Regions from separate parts of the Homo sapiens genome. Here regions 1, 2, 3, 4, 6 and 7 are each linked to region 5. Evidence: promoter capture Hi-C in 16 types of primary human blood cells and fetal thymus (Javierre and others, 2016). All regions are on one chromosome and are shown on one strand. The core of a region is centred on a gene start or on the middle of the fragment in contact, and the rest is flanking DNA. Distances in the headings are between cores, read along the strand shown. Region 1 has its middle 34 kb from the start of SDHAF3. Region 2 overlaps LOC124901704 (a long non-coding RNA gene). Region 3 overlaps SDHAF3 (succinate dehydrogenase complex assembly factor 3). Region 4 overlaps SDHAF3 (succinate dehydrogenase complex assembly factor 3). Region 5 holds the start of ASNS (asparagine synthetase (glutamine-hydrolyzing)). Region 6 overlaps SDHAF3 (succinate dehydrogenase complex assembly factor 3). Region 7 has its middle 18 kb from the start of SDHAF3.

Region 1 (2,700 bases), core at 78-2,577, 790 kb before region 5:
CCAGACACATTTTACTCAGAGGAAAAGATAATAATGGCTGATGTGTCAAGGTAAGTTTTGTTTGGACATGCATTAAAGATACAACTTAATGTTTTCATAAAATACTGTATACAATAGATCTCAAACAATGCTTGCTTTTAACAGATGCCTGGTTCTAAAAGGGAGCATTAGTTTTTATATGTAGGAAGTTAAGCACTTGATAATTGATCACCTTCAAGTACATTCTGTCTTTTACAAATGGTCATTTTGTGATAAGCTGTTCCACAATTCCCTTTAGCTCAGGAGAATTTATACCCAATTGAAGGTGTGGAAATACACTGAACCCCATACGCTATGATGTCTAAAGTTAGAAGACTGTGTAGTTTTCCTGAGTCTGTTTCAGGAATTTGTATTGGGCAGTGATGTTTGTTGCTCCCAGCTCAACTAGGGATGACTCCATCCACCAGCATAATGGGTTGGGCATATGACCAAAACCTTGAAAATGAAGGTACTACTCTATCCTTTACCTATGATGACTGGTCAAGAGTGTGTGTGTGTTTTCGTATCCAATCTAGTGATCATCAGTTTGGGAAAGAGAATTTATTTTTGCCAGCATTACTATGCTGGTAGGATGTAAGCCCAGCACTAATGTTGCAATATCCTATTAATTTTTTAAAGGTATATACGTATATACAAAGACAGTCTACTAAAGAGGTATTAAAAAATGATTAGTAAATGTTTAGTCTTACTAGTAATCAAAGAAATGCAAATTAAAACAATAAGGTACGATTTACTTTTTGAATTGGGAAATGATTAATTAATTGATAATTAAGTGACAAATTTGTGTTGGAAAGGATGCTGTATGCTATGGTTTGAATGTGTCCCCCAAAAGTTCATGTGTTGGAAAATTAGTTGCCATTGTGGTAGTGTTGAGAGGAGGGCCTTTGGGAGTCAATGAGGTCATGAAGGCTACTCCCTTATGAATGGATTACTTTTCTTATTGTGAGAGTGATTTAGTTATTGTGGGAGTGGCTTTGTTAGAAAAGCAATTGTCTCTCACACTTACTTTCTTGCCCTCTGTCTTCTGCTCTTCCACCTGTGATGACCCTCACCAGATGCCAGGTGTCATACTCTTGGACTTCCCAGCCTCCAGAACCATGAGCCTAGTAAACTTTTCTTTATAAATTACCCAGTCCTTGATATTCTGTCATAGCACCAGAAAATGGACCAAGACACTGTGAAATGCTCAAGTTTGTGGACTAGAAATTTCTGTAACATTTTTTAAGAGCAATTTGAAAATATCAATTTTTTTAAATCAATATCATATTATTTGTCCTAAGGGGAATATATCCTAAGGAAGTAATTCTAAATGTGGGAGTTTGAAGCACAAAACCAGAAACAACTAATATCCAGAAGTAAGAAAATAATAAGCTAATTATAGTAGATACATTGGGAGAAACATTTAAGTATTAAGTGAAGAATGCAGGATACAAAATTGTAAGCACATGGCTCCTTAATGATATATAGCGTACAAGTGATTTGTTCCATAATTTGCATAGTATTTTTCTTTACAAATATATTAAGTGAAATCATGATTGTGCATGTTTAATATATTTTTCCCATGCTCTAAATATTAATGTACTCTCTCAGCCAATGACACCTAGTGGGCTGTATTATTAGGCCAAGGAGGACTAGGGCTCTGCTATCCCAAATTGAGAGTACTGTGTAGTAGATACTGTTTATTCTTTTTATTTTATGTTTTATTTTTTGAGACAGAGTCTCACTCTGTTGCCCAGGCTGGAGTGCAGTGGCACAATCTCAGCTCAGTGCAACCTCTGCCTTTTGGGTTCAAGGTATTCTCCTGACTCAGCCTCCTGAGGAGCTGGGATTACAGGTGCATGCCACCACACCTGGCTAGTTTTTTATATTTCTGGTAGAGACAGGGTTTCACCATATTGGCCAGGCTGGTCTTGAACTCCTGACCTCAAGCAATCCACCCATCTCAGCTCCCCAAAATGTTGGGATTACAGAGGTGAGCCACTGTGCCCGGCAATACTGTTTATTCTTTTAGGGGCTCTCTTTCTCCCATTTAGCTTGTATTTAGTGAATAGTTTTTATTCAAAATGACTGACAAAAATGGTGCAAGTGATAGTGGAACAATTGTTTCCAAGAATCTGATACTAAAACTCAGGTTTTCTGGAAAACTGAGGAGTCTTCAGAGAAACGGTGAGGTGACAAATTAAAAAAAAGAGTAGGAGATTAGGAATTATTGGAAATCCTTAAACTTTTTGCAATTATATAAACATAATTGCAAGTAAATAAACGTTTTAAAGGCAGAATTCCTCTTACTCTTTGTGGAGCTGACTACATAATTTGTAAAGCCTAGTGCAAAATAAAAATGGGGAGCCCTTGTCAAAAATCAGGGAGGAAAGCACCGTATTAGTCCATTTTCACACTGCTATAAAGACATACCCGAGACCAAGTAGTTTATAAAGGAAAAAGGTTTAATTGACTCACAGTCACACATGGCTGGGGAGGCCTAAGGAAACTTACAATCATGGTGGAAGGCGAAGGAGAAGCCAGGCACATCTTACCATGGTGAAGTAGGAGAGAAAGAGAGTGAGGGGGGACCTGACAAACACTTTTAAAGCATCTAATTTCATGAGTATTCACTTAGCATCATGAGAACACCATGGAGGAAACCGCCCCCATGATCCAATC
Region 2 (2,700 bases), core at 159-2,658, 680 kb before region 5:
CATTTCCCTACAGGCCTCTTCCTCATTATTCAGCAATTCTGACAACACTACATGGTGGATCACAAAATGCTCATAGTTCTCTACCACTCCTTGTACCCATGCCCTTTGCAAGGTAACTTTGCAGTGCCTATTAATCTGTTTTTCAGTTATTCAAATCTGCAGGCCTTGTGACTTGATTTGCTCAAAAGAATGAGGGAGTAATATTATGCAAACTTAGGTTCTGGGCCCTCAGAGCCTTGCATACTTCTGCCGGCACTATTGGACATCTGTCCAACTGCCATGTGAGCAAACTAGGGCTGGCCTACCAGAGGATCAGATCATGTGGAGCAAAGGTGAGTCATCCTAGACCAGCCAGCTCTCAGCCAACCACATTTATATGAGTGAGCTTAGCCATGACAGCTAATCCCAGTCCAAATTGCCAATTACAAGCTAAATTAATGGCAGTTCTTTTAAATCAGTACATTCTGGGGCAGCTTATTATATAGTTAGGGCTGATACACTGTACTGCCTTACTGTCTCAAAATCACTCATTCCCCCTTTTCTGACTATTAGTCTGATACTTTAGACTTACAATTTTTTTCTGTAGCAATCTATATATGGCTTTCTTGTCTCCAGCCTGTTTTTTTAGTATGTTACTTGCAGCCAGTCACCTTAGTGATATGCAAATCCTATTTCCCTGCTTAACATTTGGAGTGGAGGAGGGTGTTTGGATTGTACTTAATGGTAGTGATACATGGCACAATTGGCTTCTTACCATTGTACTTGGTGGTTGAGAGGAATCTGATACAGCTTATTGAAAATAAATTGGAAATATATATTAAGAACTTTAAGAACATTGGTACTTTTTGAACCCGTAAATTTTATTTCTAAGATTCTATCCTAAAGAAAAGATATTCAGGAATGTGCAGTTTTTCACATAATCATGTTATTAAAAATGATATTTGAGTGAATTTGGAACAGCAGAACTCCCCCAAATACTTAAAAGGTTAAGTGAGTTGTGATGACATGTATAACGAAGTAGTTTAAATGTAGGTTTATGAAGAATTTTTAATGACATGGAACATTTCCTGACATTGATAGGTGAGAAAATGATGCTATGAAATATATGGGATTTTAAATAAAATTTTAGATTTTCTTTTCAGTAATGTGGCAAACAATGCTAATCTGAGCAGTTCTGCTGAAAATGAAAACTTTTAGGTAGAGTAGAAAAAGTATTTTTTAGAAGCTTCTAGGAGCTGGCAATACCCTAAGAGATTAATTATAAGGCCAATATTGCTAAGTGAAACTGGCAAAGCCTCTTTTACCCTAAGATGAATTTCTACTTTGGTTTTGATGGTCCTTTGGGACACAGTGGGCAGAAGACAAAGCACAGAACCCACGTAAGTTGGAGAGTCATAAACGGTTTTTCCAGAAAGACAGGACCCTAAAGACTATATATACCCTCAGGGTTAGAGTGAGCCAGAAGAAAACTTGCTCCAGTACTTGTACAGAATTGCAGGCTATCCTGGATTCAAGTCATCTGTGTACTAAAACAAAACTTAAGCTATAAATTTAATATATGGCCCCAGAATGAGTACCTGACAAATGTAAACAAGCTTTTGAGGATACTCGGGTCACAGATAATTTCCAGAAAAGTGAATCCTCAAGTTTCAGTAAACAAGCAGACTCCACATGGAAAGCTAGCACCATGACTAAGAGGCAGCAGAGACAGACCACCAGAAAACTCAGATATTGGAATTAACACATGTATAATATAAAACGTGTTCACATGTTTAAACTTAAAAGTTATTTGGAAATATCTGCAAGAAACAAGGCATTATAAAAAGTAGGCTGGCATATTTGAAAAAGAACCAAATGGAACTTCTTATAGAAGTAGAAAATAGAATAACTAAAATTAAAAAATTAACCCTAATGGATAAGTTCAAAAGACAAGATGGACTTGAAATAATGAGAATTAGTGACTGCAATACAGAACCAAAAGAAAGTATCCAGAATTCCGCATGAAAAACAAACTTGAGAATATGAGAGGTGGTTAAAACACAAGAGTGTCATGTATATCTAATAGTTTCAGATAGATACCGAGGCAGAACCAATATTTGAAGCTATATTTCCTGAGACTTTTTCAAATCAATGAAACACATAGTCTATGGATTTATCCTAAGCAGGATAGATATAAAATCCTCATTCTTAGACATACCGTATTGAAGCAGCAGAATGCCAATAACTTGTAAAAGCAGCCGAAACAAAAGTCACAAGGGAACCTCAGCTAGTACAGGACAAGTCCCTGGATGGCTTTGGTGACCCAGCTATTCTCCACTTTCTCACTTGTAGTTCTTGTAGAAATGTGCCAGGAATACAACATCCTAATAAAGAATTGTCCAGAACAGCCCAGGCTCTGTTCCTGTCCCTCCTGGAACAGGGTGTCCTTCACCACTTTAACCCAGCGGCCCATGTCACCTCCTAGGGGGTACGGCTTTCAAAATCCAGGGGCTCTCCGTGACAGTGCAAGTAGAGTATGCACAGATGAGTCCCAATCTGCCCTAGGCAGCTTTCCTCAGCCTTTGGAGACTTGCTTGTCATGAATCCTGGGCTACTGTTTTTCCTTACTGCCTACCTACAATTAATAAGACGACTTCATGAAACATGTGTGTGAATGTCCTGTCTCACCAGACTCTTGGAAGTAGTAGAGACTGCAGTGCA
Region 3 (2,903 bases), core at 287-2,786, 700 kb before region 5:
CCACAGTGAACTAGAGGCCCACGTGCACTGGGGGGAATGGGGTAGAGCCACCAGGAATTCATGCTTTGTGCAGGGGAGGAGCCTGGTCTCTTCAGCTTATGTGTGGGAGCCCTGGTATTCAGTCTGTGAGGTGGGAGCTTGCTGGCGGGACCCCCTCTTTTTGCCTAATGAATTCTGCCCTCATCACCCTTCAACGTGTTCACGTGCCTAATTTTTCCTGGTCATGAGACAAGAACTTGGATTTAGCTGAACTAAGCTTAGAGCAAAAAATCCTGCATCAATCTTAAGTTTCACAACAGTGATATTATCCCCAGGAGCAATTTGGGGGAGGGTCAGAATCTTGTAGCCTCCAGCTGCATGAGTCTGAAATCATAATCTTTTGGCTAATTTGTTAGTCCTACAACAGCAGTCTAGTTCCCAGGCAAGAAGGGGGTTTGTTTTGGGAAAGATTGTGTTATATTTGTTTAAAACTGTAAACTAAATTCTCCCAAAGTTAATTCAACCTGTGCCCAGGAATGAATAAGGATACCTTGGACATGAGAAGCAAGATGGAGTTGGTTAGGTCAGATCTCTTTCACTGTCTCAGTTATAATTTTGCAATGATGGTTTCAATCCCTTCCTTTGGGTTTTATAACACCTTAATCTTAAGGTGTGGGCTAATGAAGATGGAAAAAGTGTGACACCTGCTCTAACTTCTTCCTGCTAACCGGGGGTGTAATTGGGATAGGTGTTGACTCCAAGGTGAGAGGTTTCATACACTTGGCTTTTGTGTTTTCTTCATGCCTTTTACATTTTTTATTATGTTACTTAACTAATTTTTGTTCCCTTTTCTTTTAGCCTATAAATAAATATCCTGTTCATTTCTTACATACTTATTCTTATATTCTCCTTTAGTGAGTAAGCTATCTTATTTGTTTGATATTTTAGTTTGATTACAGATATGTAGACTCTGGGTAACGTGAAATGTGATTGTGATAATGCTACACTCTTTCATTTGGTTAATTAGAATAACAAATGCAGAAGATAACTTGTAAGACATTAGAATATATTTAAATTTTCTGTTAAAATTTGCCTTTCAGGGCTGGGTGCGGTGGCTCATGCCTGTAATCCCAGCACTTTGGGAGGCCGACGGATCACTTGAGGTCAGGAGTTCAAGACCAGCCTGGCCAGCGTGTTGAAACCCTGCCTCTACTAAAAATACAAAAGTTAGCTGGGCATGGTGGTGGGCGCCTGTAATCCCAGGTACTTGGGAGGCTGAGGCAGGAGGATCACTTGAATGTAGTGAGCTAAGATCGCGGCGCTGCACTCCAGCCTGGGCAACAAGAGCGAAACTGTCTCAAAAAAAAAGTATTAATATCATGATCGTCTGCTTTGGATCAGTATTACCCCAAATTGAACTGTGTGAAAGTACTGTCAATTTCAATATATATCAAATATAATTTTTAAAATACTTGATTTGATGTAACTCACTTGATGTTATAATAGATTCCTTTGGAGAGTAAGAATTATGCAGATTGCTATACATTTTTTTGGTGACAGCTATAATGTAAATAATTTGTTATAAAACATACTAATTTTATTTTCTCAATAAATTGGTGATTTTCTAAACAGATTACATCAAAATAGAATTTGAATGCATCATGTCCTTTAGTTTATATAATTTTTTTAAATATAGAATTAACCTGCATTACAGATGAACAGGTAGTTAAAAATCTATTGCTAAATGCAGTTTTTCTGTAGAGTGAAAAGAAAAAGCCTGATTATAAAAAATGTAAAAAAAGAAAAAATTATAGTTTTGAACTCTTTATGTTTTTAATGTCTGCGAGTGAAATTTTTTGTTCTATTTTCTTAACTATTACAATTTAGTTGTTTTTGATGACTAATATTGATAGTAAAATAATTGGAAGAATTTTTTCAAAAGCCTTTTTTGAGTTTTGTATATTAGCTTTATAAGCTGTTTTTTGTTCCCCATCAATTTTTAAATCAGTAGTGTATATACATTCTTATCTAATTGGATCATTGTCATCCTTAGGTATTACAGTTAAACTTATTTTCTTGCTACTTTGCTAGAACCCATCCTCACCTCCATTGAGGTATAAGTGAGTAAGGTAAGGAGTTGGCTAGTTCGTTTTTTTTTTTTAACGTAACAGCTTTACTGTGGTGTCATTGATGCATAGTGAACCACACATATTAATGTGTATACTTGGGTGAGTTTTGAAATATGTATACACCCATGAAACTGTCACCACATTCAAGATAACAAAAATCTATTACTCCAGAAAGTTTCCTTGTGCCTCACTGTATTCTAATATTACTAAAGAATAAATTAAAGGTTATATATAAAACATAAAATGTACAAGTAGTCCATTCACCTAAATGATCAGGAAAATGTATTTTTAAAATTAGTTTTATGAATACATTTTTAGATTAAGTAAAATAAGTTATGTAATATTACCTTAAGTACAATGCTATTATTGTTTCTGGGAACTTTGGGATGAATTTCATAAACAAGAATGTGCTTATTTTCTGTGCTGACTTCTCATTTCTGACATTATGACATTTGATTTGTAAGTGTCCAATATCATGGACATAGAGTTTATAGTAGACAAATATAAAGAATATTTGTGAACTAGGTTTTCTATAACATTTCCTTACTACTTCCTTAGCCAAGAACTTTCTACGTTCTTGCTTTTTTTTCTTTTTATCTTTGCTGTGCTGTGTCACAACTAACACCTTTTTTTGCTCATCTCTGGGAGTCACAGGTGAATCTTGAGTTTGGTTTACAGAGGAACCTGGGGAATTTGACTTCACAGAGGCTAAGCTTCATGGCCACCTGAGAAATTGACTTATTAGTGACACTAGTGTTACTTTCTATTCTTTGCACTCTGTATATCAAAGAGTTA
Region 4 (2,845 bases), core at 185-2,684, 750 kb before region 5:
TACCTACCTTCTGAAGCCTACTTCTGTCAATTCATCAAACTCATTCTCCATCCAGTTTTGTGTCCTTGCTGGAGAGGAGTTGCAATCATTTGGAGGAGAAGAAGCATTCTGGTTTTTGGAATTTGCAGCATTTTTGTGCTGGTGTTTCCTCATCTTCATGGATTTACTTTGGATGGGGTTTTGTGTGAGGGTCTTTTTTGTTGCTGTTCATGTTGCTGCTTTCTGTTTGTTTTTCTTCTAATAGGCCCCTCTTCTGCAGATCTGCTGCAGTTTGCTGGAGGTCTACTCCAGACCCTATTTGCCTGGGTATTACCAGCAGAGGCTGCAGAACAGCAAAGATTGCTGCCTGCTCTTTCCTCTGGAAGCTTCGTCCCAGAGGGGCACCAGCCTGATGCCAGCCAGAGCTCTCCTGTATGAGGTGTCTGTCAACCCCTGTTGGGAGGTCTCTTCCAGTCAGGAGGCATGGGGGTCAAAGACCCAGTTGAGGAAGCAGTCTGTCCCTTAGTGGAGCTCAAGCACCGTCCTGCGAAAGCCCTCCTTGTCAGCATCCGCTGCTCTCTTCAGAGCCGTCAGGCAGGAACATTTAAGTCTGCTGAAGTTGTGCCCACAGCTGCCCCTTCCCCCAGGTGCTGTGGCCCAGGGAGATGGGAGTTTTATCTGTAAGCCCCTGATTGGGGCTGCTGCCTTTGTTTCAGAGATGCCCTGCCCAGTGAGGAGGAATCTAGAGAGGCAGTCTGGCCACAGCTGCTTTGCTGCGTTACGTTGAGTTCCTCCCAGTCCTTAGTACTGTCAGAGGAAAACAGCCTACTCAAGCCTCAGTAATGGCAGATGCCCCTCCCCCCACCAAGCTGTGTCATCCCTGGTCGACTTCAGACTTGTGCTGGCAGCGAGAAATTCAAGCCAGTGGTTCTTAGCTTGCTGGCCTTCATGGGAGTGGGACCTGCTGAGCGAGACCACTTGGTTCCCTGGCTTCAGCTCCCTTTCCAGGCAAGTGAACGGTTCTGTCTTGCCTGGGTTCCAGGCACCACTGGAGTACCGAAAAAAAAAAAAAAAAACCCTGCAGCTAGCTCGGTGTCTGCCCGAATAGCTGCCCAGCTTTGAGCTTGAAACCCAGGGCCTTGGTGGTGTAGACACACGAGGGAATCTCCTGGTCTTCGGATTACAAAAATCATGGGAAAAGCATAGTATCTGGGCCGGATAGCACAGTCCCTCATGGCTTCCCTTGGCTGGGAAAGGGAGCCCCTCACCTCCCCGCAACTCCTTGCGCTTCCTGGGTGAGGCAACACCCCATGCTGCTTCTGCTCGCCCTCCATGGGCTGCACCCACTGCCTAACCAGTCCCAGTGAGATGAACAGGGTACCTTAGTTGGAAATGGAGAAATCACCTGCCTTATGTATTGGTCTTGCTTGGAGCTGCCAACCAGAGCTGTTCCTATTTGGCTATCTTGCCAGATCCAAGAGAATCCATTTTCTTTTTCTTCTCTTCAAGTAAAGGCAATGATCCCGGTATCACGGACTGACTGTAACTGCTCTTCTTGATTATGTTCAATTCTTTATACTTGTGTGATAATTTAGTTATTATAACATTTTCTTTCCCATTTTATTTTGTTGCATTTGTTCGAGAGGAGGAAATGCTTCAGACTTCAGGTAGCCATTCCTTTGTAACTCTCATGGGATGTCTTTTTCTTATATATGATTTTGAAGTGGATCATCATTTGTATGTATGTATCATATATACACATGTATTATTAAGTGGCATGTCACCTATATTTAGAGTTTCCTTAGTATAATTAGGATTGGATGGGTATTTGGCTAGTTTTTATAAATGTATGCTTCTCTTACCTAATTTGTGGACCTCATTTTGTTACTCTTGAACATCTTGATTTATAGTTTTAGCTTGCAGGAGAAAAGGAATGAATTGCTTCTCTGTTTAGTGAATGGATTGTATGTGTCAGGGATACATTTCCCAAGTATGAGTGGGTCAGTTGGGTCTCAGTCAAATTGTTAATTCTGCATTTTACTCATTGTCGGTGTTTTTGTGATGGTTTATTGAATGGTGATTTGTCACACATATATGTTTTCTACATCAAGTTTTTTTTTTTTTTTTTTTTTTTGACTGAGTCTCCCTCTGTCGCTGAGGCTGGAGTGCAGTGGCACTGCGTCGGCTCACTGCAACCTCCTTCTCCTGGGTTCAAGCAGTTCTCCTGCCTCAGCCTCCCAAGTAGCTGGGATTACAGGCGTCCACCACATCTGGCTAGTTTTTATATTTTTAGTAGAGATGGGGTTTCACCATGTTGGCCAGGCTGGTCTCAAACTCCTGACACCAAGTGATCCACTTGCCTCGGCCTCCCAAAGTCAAGTTTTAACTTTTAAAACATTTTAACCATACTGTGGTCCTTAACTAATGGTTTAAAAAGGGGTACAAGAGAAGATACAAAACAGTTTATCCTTGCAACATAGAATGTTTTCTACTTTTTCATGTCTGAAACACTTGCATTATTAGTGAAGCTTTTAAGATATTACTACTTAGGAATATTTAATTTTTATTGGTGTTATAAAATGTGTTATAACAATGCTCATGATAAAGTAACAAAGTAAAAATTATAGTTTGATCAATATTGCATATATTATTGACTTTATGGTATGTTACTGGAAGACAGGTGTATGTTTCTTTTATTTAAATGATTCAAAATTTTCAGATTTAAAATAATGGTAATAGCATGATAATGTTAATATGCTAGTGGTCATAGTTCTGAAACATTGTGTGTGTAGAGGTATGTGTATAGGTAATGTGCAATCTTAAAATTTGAAGTTTTTGTACAAATTTAAGGTGATAAAAATTATAT
Region 5 (2,870 bases), core at 189-2,688:
GCAAAGTTCCTACTGCCGCTACCTGTTCTCAATATTTTTCTTATTTCTTCCTAAACTTCTAGAACAGTGCTGTCCAATAAATATATATGTAAGCCACATATGTAATTTTAAATATACTAGTAGCCCCATTAAAAGAAAAAGGTGAAATTAATTTTAAATAAACTTAACTCAGTATGTCCCAAATAGTAACATTTTAACATATATGTAATCAATATAAAATATTATCGAGCAGATATTTTACACTGTTCTTCCTACTCCAACGACAAAATCCAGTGTATTTAACACAATACATCTCAGTTAGGACTAGCCAGCACTTCAAGTGCTCAACAGTTACAGGTGGCTAGCGCCTACCGAACTGGACATGGCAGTTTCAGTGCATTTAATTTCTATTCCACTTAGTGCTACTTACAACTTCACCCTCTCCCTTTACTTTTATATTAAGATCTCAGTAAGTAACCAACTACAGACAGGTTCAAGCCCTACTTTACCTCTAATTACTCTTACAGCAATGCTATGAATCATGATTTAAAATTTAAAAAAAAAAACTGCTGTTAAATTATTAGTCAAGCGCCCAGGGCAATGGACAGTAAAGAAATAATGTAGGCCACGGGCCGAGATGAAAACTGTCCTTTTTATTTAAAGCTATAACAATCATCTGAAGCCAGCCCTGCAAAATGACAGCCATTGAAAAAGGCATGCTAGTTCTTTTGCCTTTTTCTGTACTTGGTCGCCTGTGTCCCTAAACAGACCTCTTCTCGGCAGGGTTTGCTCAGCAAGTCACTTGATGAGTCTTGCAGTCTACAGAGACAGGTGGGGACTGGTGGGGATGGCGGGGTGAGAGGGGAGGAGGAGGGTGAGCGGTCCAGGTGAGGAGGGGGGCAGTTGAAGGTGAAAGCAGACACCGAGACGGTGATAAGGCCGCAGTCTCTTCCTAGATCAGGACCACGCGACACCTGACTGCGCCCTGGCCACGAGCACGATCCGACCCGTCCGCCGCAGGGACCCGGACCGCGAAAATGTCCACAGGCTTCGACGCCACATAGTAAAAAAAAGTACACATATAACATTTACAGGGGCTCAAACTGCCGCTGCCTCCTCTCCGGAGCGGTCCGGCCTGCCGGCCGCGGTTCCCTCTCGATGCTTCAGGGAACCAGGACAGAAAGGTCCTTCCGCTAGCTGTCAGGTGCGTAACAATCGCTAGGCGTCCGCCCCGCCCTCCCTACCGCAGGAGCCGCAGCATCAGCAGGCGCCCGCGAACCGCGTCTGCCGGGTGCCAGGCTGAAGACCGCATCCTCCACCCCTTCCTTCCGGAGCAGCCCCAGGGCACGCGAGGAGGATGCTGGCGCGGGGCGCAGGGCACGGGGCGCAGGACCCGGCTCACCTGGGCGTAAGCAGGTCAGGGTGATGTGGCGGGCTGAGGCCAGGGATGTGGACAGCTTGACGGGCGGCGAGGCCGCTGGCGCTTATACCGACCTGGCTCCTGTAACGCGTGCGGGAAGTTTCATCATGCCTGCGAGGACCAACCAGCGCGCACAGGGGCGGGGCCGCGGGGTGTCCGGGGCGGAGCAGGACTAAGTGGGGCGGCGGAAGGGCGCAAGGAGGAGCTCTTTTGTTTCCAGCGCCTTGCGTCTCAGTGCGCCTGTTTAAGGATAGCCTCAGAGCTCCGCCCAGGCTACCTGCTGTTCTGACAATTAGGGAGGCTTCTGAACTTGGTTTGTTCTTCGGGAAATCATCACCGTTTTTTTGTTGCACTGCCGTCTGATTTATTATGCAGTGCAGAGAAAAGCTTGTCCTAAGAAACTGATGCGTGAGGCCTAAAATGTCCTTATAAGATCTATTAATAAATCGGGGCCAGGAGCGGTGGCTCACGCCTGTAATCCCAACACTTTGGGAAGCCAAGGCAAGAGGATCACTTGAAACCAGGAGTTCAAGACCAGCCTGGGAAACACAGCGAGATCACATCTCTATAAAAATTGGTGGCACACCATGGTAGTCCCAGCAACTCAGGAGGCTGAGGCAGAAGGATAGTTTGAGCCCAGGCGTTTGAGGCTGAGGTGAGCTCAACTCCAGCCTGGGCGACAAAGGGAGACCCCCATCTCTAAAACAATAAAATCTAAATCTAATTGATACATGAAGCCAAAATACATCAGTGGTCCTTAAACATTTTAAGTACAAAGATTCCTTTTAGAATCTCAAAAAGGATTTTGTCAACTTGCCTCCACAAGATGATTATGTGCTTTTAAGTATCTCTTTGATGAAGAAAAGACATCACGATTTTTAAAAAGTATCATAACACTCTTAAATCGTATTTTACTAATTACATCAGCACCGAAATAAATTGAGAAATAGTAAAATTATATGTGCACGACCTACTAAGATCAGACTACAGTCAATGCTTGGAGAGCATGCAGGTTTGATATCCCCATACAACGCATTCCTGACTAAATCAAAAACGTCAACAATTTAAAATCCCTAAGAACAGAAGATGGAGTAGTCGCTTAGTAGTTACAGGCAAGAGCAAAGATGAGAGATGACTTGTTCTAAGGTTCATTGTTGCTGGAAAGTTTTCAGTATCAAACAGACTTTGCTGTATCCTAATTGACGTACTTTAAACCTGAGAGCAATGTGGGAAAGTAGGTCTTCTATCTACATTTTACAAATGAAAAAATAAGACTCAGAAAAGTTGAGGGATTTATCCAAACACAGCTTCACAACAGTAGAGAACTGAGTCATAATCTGTGTAAACCCAGAGCCCATTTCCCGTAGCATCTTGCCTATGTAGTGAAAGACAGGTTCCCCTGCTTGGTGTGTTACCTAGTGTGCTTCCTTGTGCTGCGTATCTCCTGCTTGTCCGTCCAGAGCTCTACACT
Region 6 (2,830 bases), core at 99-2,598, 720 kb before region 5:
GTTAAAATACTCAGTAGCTGGGACTACAGGCCTGCACCACTGCGCCTGGCTGTCAGTTGTTTGTTAGTGTGTTTTAAGACTTAATATATTAAGATTAGTTTTAGGTTCTTGGCAAAATTAAGAGGAAAGCACAGAGATTTTCCATATACCTTCTGCCCCAACATATGCATAACCTCTCCCATTATCAGCATCCCCCACTGGAGTAGTACATTTGTTACAATAGATGAACAAACTGTAGGGGTGACGGGAACTTTTACTGCACACTCCGAAGTTTCTGTAGTTGAATCTGTGATAAACTGAAAGCAGACAGATTAATAGGAGAAAGGCATACGGATTTATTATGTGCATATACACGAGAGTCTCACAAAATAAAAGACTCAGAAAGGCCAGATGATTGGAATTTTTATAATATCTGTAGCTGCAGAAAGAAATAGGGGCTTGGGGCTTCTAGGGAGTGGAGGTGAGGACAGACAGGCTTTGGGAGGGTGAGGGGAAGAAATCTAGGGAACAAAGGTTGTCTTGCTACATAGATTAAAATATCTCGGGGAGCAGCCCTCCAAAGAATGGGTAAAGCTGCTCTGGGTGAGGTTGCTAACCTTTAGTCCTTTTTTTTTTTTTGAGTTGGAGTCTCCCTCTGTCCCCCAGGCTGGAGTGCAGTGGCACAATCTCCGCTCACTGCAAGCTCTGCCCCCCGGGTTCCTGCCATTCTCCTGCCTCAGCCTCCCGAGTAGCTGGGACTACAGGCGCTTGCCACCATGCCTGGCTAATTTTTTTGTATTTTTAGTAGAGACGGGGTTTCACAGTGTTCACCAGGATGGTCCCAATCTTCTGACCTCGTGATCTGCCTGCCTCGGCCTCCCAAAGTGCTGGGATTACAGGCATGAGCCACCACGCTCGGCCAACCTTTAGTCTCTTTTTCCTGTGGTACGGTCTTTCCAGATCCATCTTTAGGCAGATTAGGGGTCCTCAGAGAAAACTTCAGCTTGCATCCACTGGTTCCCTGCTGTTCCCCAGTCATGATACCAAAGAGCCTTACTTTGGGGTATCATTTTCTGAGCCCCAATACTACATTGACACATTAAGATCACCCAGAGTTCATCATTTACATGTAGGGTTTACTCTTGTTTTCTTACTTTCTGTGAGTTTAGACAAATGTATAACGACATGTATCCATCTTTATAGTAGTATATAGTATATTTTCACTGCCCTAAAAATTCTCTCTGCCCTGCCGGTTCATCCCCCTCACCAACCTCTGATAACCCACAACTGTAACCCCCAATGGGTTCTACTTGCCTTCTGCCAGATGAAGCCAATTTATCAAGATGGGAATTGCAATAGAGAAACTGTTTCATACACATAGAGCCAACTAAATTGGAGACTGGAGTTTTGGTATTACTCATATCAGCCTCCCTGAAAATTTGGAAGCTAGGGTTTTTGAAAGATAGTTTGGCAGGCATGGACTAGGGAATGGGAAATGCTGATTGGTTAAGTTAGGGATGAAATAATAGGGAGTTGAATCTGTCCTCTTGCATGGAGTCAGTTCCTGGGTGGGAGGTCACAAGACCAGATATCCCAGTTTATGGGTCTGGGTAACACCAGTGGATCCATTAGAATGCAGGGTCTGAAAAATATGTCAAACATCAGTCTTAGGTTTTACAGTAGTAATGTTATCCATAGGAGCAATTGAGGAGGTTAGGAAGTTTATGGCCTCTGACTGCGTGACTTCTGAGCCATTATTTTGTTTATTTATTTATTTATTTATTTATTTTGAGATGGAGTCTCGCTCTTTCGCCCAGGCTGGATTGCAATGGCGCAATCTCAGGTCACTGCAACCCCTGCCTCCCAGGTTCAAGCGATCCTTGTGCCTCAGCCTCCTGAGTAGCTGGGACTACAGATGTGTGCCACCATGCCCAGCAAATTTTTGTAGGCGTGGTGGTTTAGTAGAGACAGGGTTTTGCCATCTTGGCCAGTCTTGAACTCCTGACCTCAAGCAATGGTCTCCCGCCATGCCCGCCATGGCCTCCCAAAGTGCTGGGATTACAGGCATGAACCACTGCATCTGGCCCTGAGCCATTATTTCTTATTTTGTGGCAAATTTGTTAGTTTTACAAAGGTGATCTAGTCTCCAAGCAAGGAGGATGTTTGTTTTGGGGAGGGCCTGTCACTGTCTTTGTTTCAAAATTAAAGTGTAAATTCCTCACAAAGTTAGCTAGACCTACACCTAGGAATGAACAAGGGCAGTTGGGAGGTTAAAGTCACGATGCAGTTGATTAGGTCATATCTCTTTTGCTGTCATAATTTTCTCACTTGTAATTTTTGCAAAGGTGGTTTCTCCACTGATCTGTGTACTCTCACCCTAGTTTTGCCTTTTCTGGCGTGTTACATGTTGGAATCATACAGAATGTAGCCTTTTCAAATTGGCTTCTTGGCTGCTTTTATTTGGTAATATGCGTTTAAGTTTCCTATGTGTCTTTTCATGGCTTGATCATTTCTTTTTAGCTCTGATAAATATTTCATTGTCTGGGTGTACTGCAGTTTGTTCATTTACCTACTGAAGGATATCCTGGTTGCTTCCAAGTTTTGTCAATTATGAATGAAGCTGCAGTAAACATCCGTTTGCAGGGTTTTGAGTGTACATAATTTTTCAACTTCTTTGGATAAATACCAAGGAATGCAATTGCTGGATCATATGGTAAGAGTATGTTTAGTTTTGTTAGAAATTGTAAAGTGTCTTCCAAAGTGGCTGTACCATTTTACATTTCCACCAGCGGTGAATGAGAGTTTCTGTAGCATATCCTTGCCAGCGTTTTGGTGACCATTTTATATTTCC
Region 7 (2,987 bases), core at 125-2,624, 770 kb before region 5:
TGTTGGCCAGGCTGGTCTCAAACTCCTGACCTCAGGTGATTCTTCCGTCTCTGCCTCCCAAAGTGCTGGGATTACAGGCATGAGCCACTGAGCCCAGCCTAACAGATGCTTTTTAAGTACCTACCAACATTCTCATTTTAAGAGGGGAAACTGAAGTCCAGAGAGGTTAAACAACTAGCCCAAGGCATAGACTTCAAAAGTGGCAGAGCTGGAATCTAGCTGAATATGACTTACTCACCTTAAATTTGTAATAATGAAGGATAGATACTGTATTCTTATATCAGACAAAACAGACTTCAAAGCAACAACAGTTTAAAAAGACAAAGAGGAACATTATGTAATGATAAAAGGATTAGTCCAACAGGAAAATATCACAATCCTAAATATATATGCACCTAACATGGGAGCTCCCAAATTTATAATACAAGTATTACTAGACATAAGAAATGAAATAGATGGCAACAAAATAATAGTGGGGAATTTCAATACTGTACTGACAACACTAGACAGGTCATCAAGACAGAAAGTCAACAAAGAAACAATGAACTTAAATTATACCCTAGAACAAATGGACTTAACAGATATTTACAGAACATTCTACCCAAGAACTGCAGAATATACATTCTTTTCATCAGCATATGGAACATTCTCCAAAACAGATCATATCATGGGCCACAAAACAAGTCTCAATAAATTTAAGAAAATTGAAATTATATAAAATAGCTTCTCAGATCACAGTGAAATAAAATTGGAAATTAATTCCAAAAGAAATCCTTAAAACGGCCGGGCGCGGTGGCTCACGCCTGTAATCCCAGCACTTTGGGAGGCCGAGGTGGGTGGATCATGAGGTCAGGAGATCGAGACCATCCTGGCTAACAAGGTGAAACCCTGTCTCTACTAAAAATACAAAAAATTAGCCGGGCGCGGTGGCGGGCGCCTGTAGTCCCAGCTACTCGGGAGGCTGAGGCAGGAGAATGGCGTGAACCCGGGAAGCGGAGCTTGCAGTGAGCCGAGATTGCGCCACTGCAGTCCGCAGTCCGGCCTGGGCGACAGAGCGAGACTCCGTCTCAAAAAAAAAAAAAAAAAAGAAATCCTTAAAACTATACAAATGCATGGAAATTAAATAATCTCTCCTCAATGATCTTTGGATCAATAATGAAATCAAGATGGAAATTTAAAAATTCTTTGAACTGAATGATAATAGTTACACAACTTACCAAAACCTCTGGGACACAGCAAAAAAAAGTGCGAAGAGGAAATTTCACAGCATTAAATCCTTACATCAAAAAGTCTGCAAGAGCACAAAATGACAACCTAAGGTCACACCTCAAGGAACTAGAGAAACAAGAACCCAAACCCGGCAGAAGAAAAGAAATAACAAAGATCAGAACAGAACTAAATGAAATTGAAACAAAAAAAAATACAAAAGATAAATGAAACAAAAAGCTGGTTCTTTGAAAAGATAAATAAAATTGATAGGCCAGTAGCAACAGTAATCAAGAAAAGAAGACAGAAGATCCAAATAAGCTCAATTAGAAATGAAATGTGAAATACTACAGCTGATACCACAGAAATACAAAAGATCATTCAAGGCTACTATGAACACCTTTATGCACACAAACTAGAAAACCTAAAGGAGATGGATAAATTCCTGGGAATATACAACCCTCCTAGATTAAATCCGGGAGAAATAGAAACTCTGAATAGACCAGTAACAAGTAGTGATATTGAAACAGTAATAAAAAAATTACCAATCAAAAAAAGTCCAGGACCAGATGGATTCACAGCTGAATTCTTTTTTTTTTTTTTTTTTTCCCCGAGACGGAGTCTCGCACCGTCACCCAGGCTGGAGTGCAATGGCACAATCTCGGCTCACTGCAACTTCTGCCTCCCAGGTTCATGTGATTCTCCTGCCTCAGCCTCCCGAGTAGCTGGGATTACAGGTGTACACCACCACACCCAGCTAATTTTTTGTATTTTTAGTAGAGATGGGGTTTCACTATGTTGGCCAGACTGATCTAGAACTCCTGACCTCGTGATCCACCTGCCTTGGCCTCCCAAAGTGCCGGGATTACAGGCATGAGCAACCACACCCGGCCTCACAGCTGAATTCTATCAGGCATTCAGAGAAGAATTGGTACCTATCTTACTGAAACTATTTCACAAGATAGAGAAAGAGGAATTCCTCCCTAAATCATTCTATGAAGTCAGTATCCCCCTAATACCAAAGCCAGAAAATGACATAAGAAAAAAGAAAACTACAGACCAATATCCCTGATGAACACAGATGCAAAAATCCTCAACAAAAATACTAGCTAATCAAATCCAACAGCATATCAAAAAGATAATACACCATGATCAAGTGGGTTTCATAACAGGGATGCAGCGATGGTTTAACATACACAAGTCAATAAATGTGATACACTACACAAACAATTAAAAACAAAAATCACATGTCCATCTCAATAGATGCAGAAAAAGCATTTGACAAAATTCAGCATGCCTTTATGATGAAAACCCTCAGCAAAATTGGCATAGAAGAGACATACCTCAAGGTAATAAAAGCCATCTATGACAAACCCACAGCCAACATTATACTAAATGGGGAAAAGTTGAAAGCATTCCCCCTGAGAACTGGAACAAGACAAGGATGCCCACCTTTACCACTGCTATTCAACATAGTACTGGAAGTCCTAGTCAGAGCAATAAGACAAGAGAAAGAAACAAAAAGCATCCAAATCAGTAAAGAGGAACTCAAACTGACACTGTTCACCAATTATATGTTTGTATACCTAGAAAACCCTAAAAACTCATCCAAAAAGCTCCTAGATTTGATAAACGAAGTCAGTAAAGTTTCAGGATACAAAATCAATGTACACAAATCAGCAGCACTGCTATACACCAACAATGACCAAGCTGAGAATCAAATCAAGAACTCAACCCCTTTTACAACAGGTGCAAAAAAAAAGGAAATATTTAGGAATATG

The links. Contacts are between HindIII fragments. The CHiCAGO score rates a contact against its expected background, and 5 or more counts as called.
Region 1: a fragment that was not itself captured here is called in contact with the fragment with the promoter of ASNS in region 5 in 1 of 17 cell types (M2 macrophages); the score reaches 5.4 in M2 macrophages.
Region 2: a contact is called between a fragment that was not itself captured here and the fragment with the promoter of ASNS in region 5, in 2 of 17 cell types (monocytes and M0 macrophages). The highest score is 5.5, in monocytes.
Region 3: a contact is called between a fragment that was not itself captured here and the fragment with the promoter of ASNS in region 5, in 4 of 17 cell types (M2 macrophages, monocytes, erythroblasts and 1 more). The highest score is 10.2, in M2 macrophages.
Region 4: a contact is called between a fragment that was not itself captured here and the fragment with the promoter of ASNS in region 5, in 5 of 17 cell types (erythroblasts, total B cells, M0 macrophages and 2 more). The highest score is 9.0, in erythroblasts.
Region 6: a contact is called between a fragment that was not itself captured here and the fragment with the promoter of ASNS in region 5, in 3 of 17 cell types (M1 macrophages, M0 macrophages and endothelial precursors). The highest score is 8.4, in M1 macrophages.
Region 7: a contact is called between a fragment that was not itself captured here and the fragment with the promoter of ASNS in region 5, in 1 of 17 cell types (M1 macrophages). The highest score is 5.6, in M1 macrophages.

Annotation. Positions count from the first base shown.
Region 1 is chr7:97,082,574-97,085,273 of GRCh38, forward strand. No RefSeq gene overlaps it. Among named protein-coding and RNA genes, the nearest start is that of SDHAF3, 34 kb to the right of the region's middle. The HindIII fragment of the contact is 2,931 bases long and covers 1-2,700 here.
Region 2 is chr7:97,186,945-97,189,644 of GRCh38, forward strand. All of the region lies in intron 1 of LOC124901704 (a long non-coding RNA gene), which reads right to left. Among named protein-coding and RNA genes, the nearest start is that of SDHAF3, 71 kb to the left of the region's middle. The HindIII fragment of the contact is 370 bases long and covers 1,224-1,593 here.
Region 3 is chr7:97,167,971-97,170,873 of GRCh38, forward strand. The region is part of intron 1 of SDHAF3 (succinate dehydrogenase complex assembly factor 3); the gene reads left to right. Among named protein-coding and RNA genes, the nearest start is that of SDHAF3, 52 kb to the left of the region's middle. The HindIII fragment of the contact is 2,565 bases long and covers 255-2,819 here.
Region 4 is chr7:97,125,808-97,128,652 of GRCh38, forward strand. The region is part of intron 1 of SDHAF3 (succinate dehydrogenase complex assembly factor 3); the gene reads left to right. Among named protein-coding and RNA genes, the nearest start is that of SDHAF3, 9.5 kb to the left of the region's middle. The HindIII fragment of the contact is 2,142 bases long and covers 364-2,505 here.
Region 5 is chr7:97,870,970-97,873,839 of GRCh38, forward strand. It overlaps ASNS (asparagine synthetase (glutamine-hydrolyzing)), which reads right to left and starts at 1,439. Exons shown (of 13, transcript NM_001673.5): 1 at 1,382-1,439. The region is part of intron 7 of CZ1P-ASNS (CZ1P-ASNS readthrough); the gene reads right to left. RefSeq lists silencers at 1,161-1,270, 1,581-1,670 and an enhancer at 1,320-2,035. The HindIII fragment of the contact is 3,580 bases long and covers 1-1,784 here.
Region 6 is chr7:97,150,899-97,153,728 of GRCh38, forward strand. The region is part of intron 1 of SDHAF3 (succinate dehydrogenase complex assembly factor 3); the gene reads left to right. All of the region lies in intron 2 of LOC107984034 (a long non-coding RNA gene), which reads left to right. Among named protein-coding and RNA genes, the nearest start is that of SDHAF3, 35 kb to the left of the region's middle. The HindIII fragment of the contact is 5,764 bases long and covers 1-2,830 here.
Region 7 is chr7:97,098,597-97,101,583 of GRCh38, forward strand. No RefSeq gene overlaps it. Among named protein-coding and RNA genes, the nearest start is that of SDHAF3, 18 kb to the right of the region's middle. The HindIII fragment of the contact is 8,667 bases long and covers 1-2,987 here.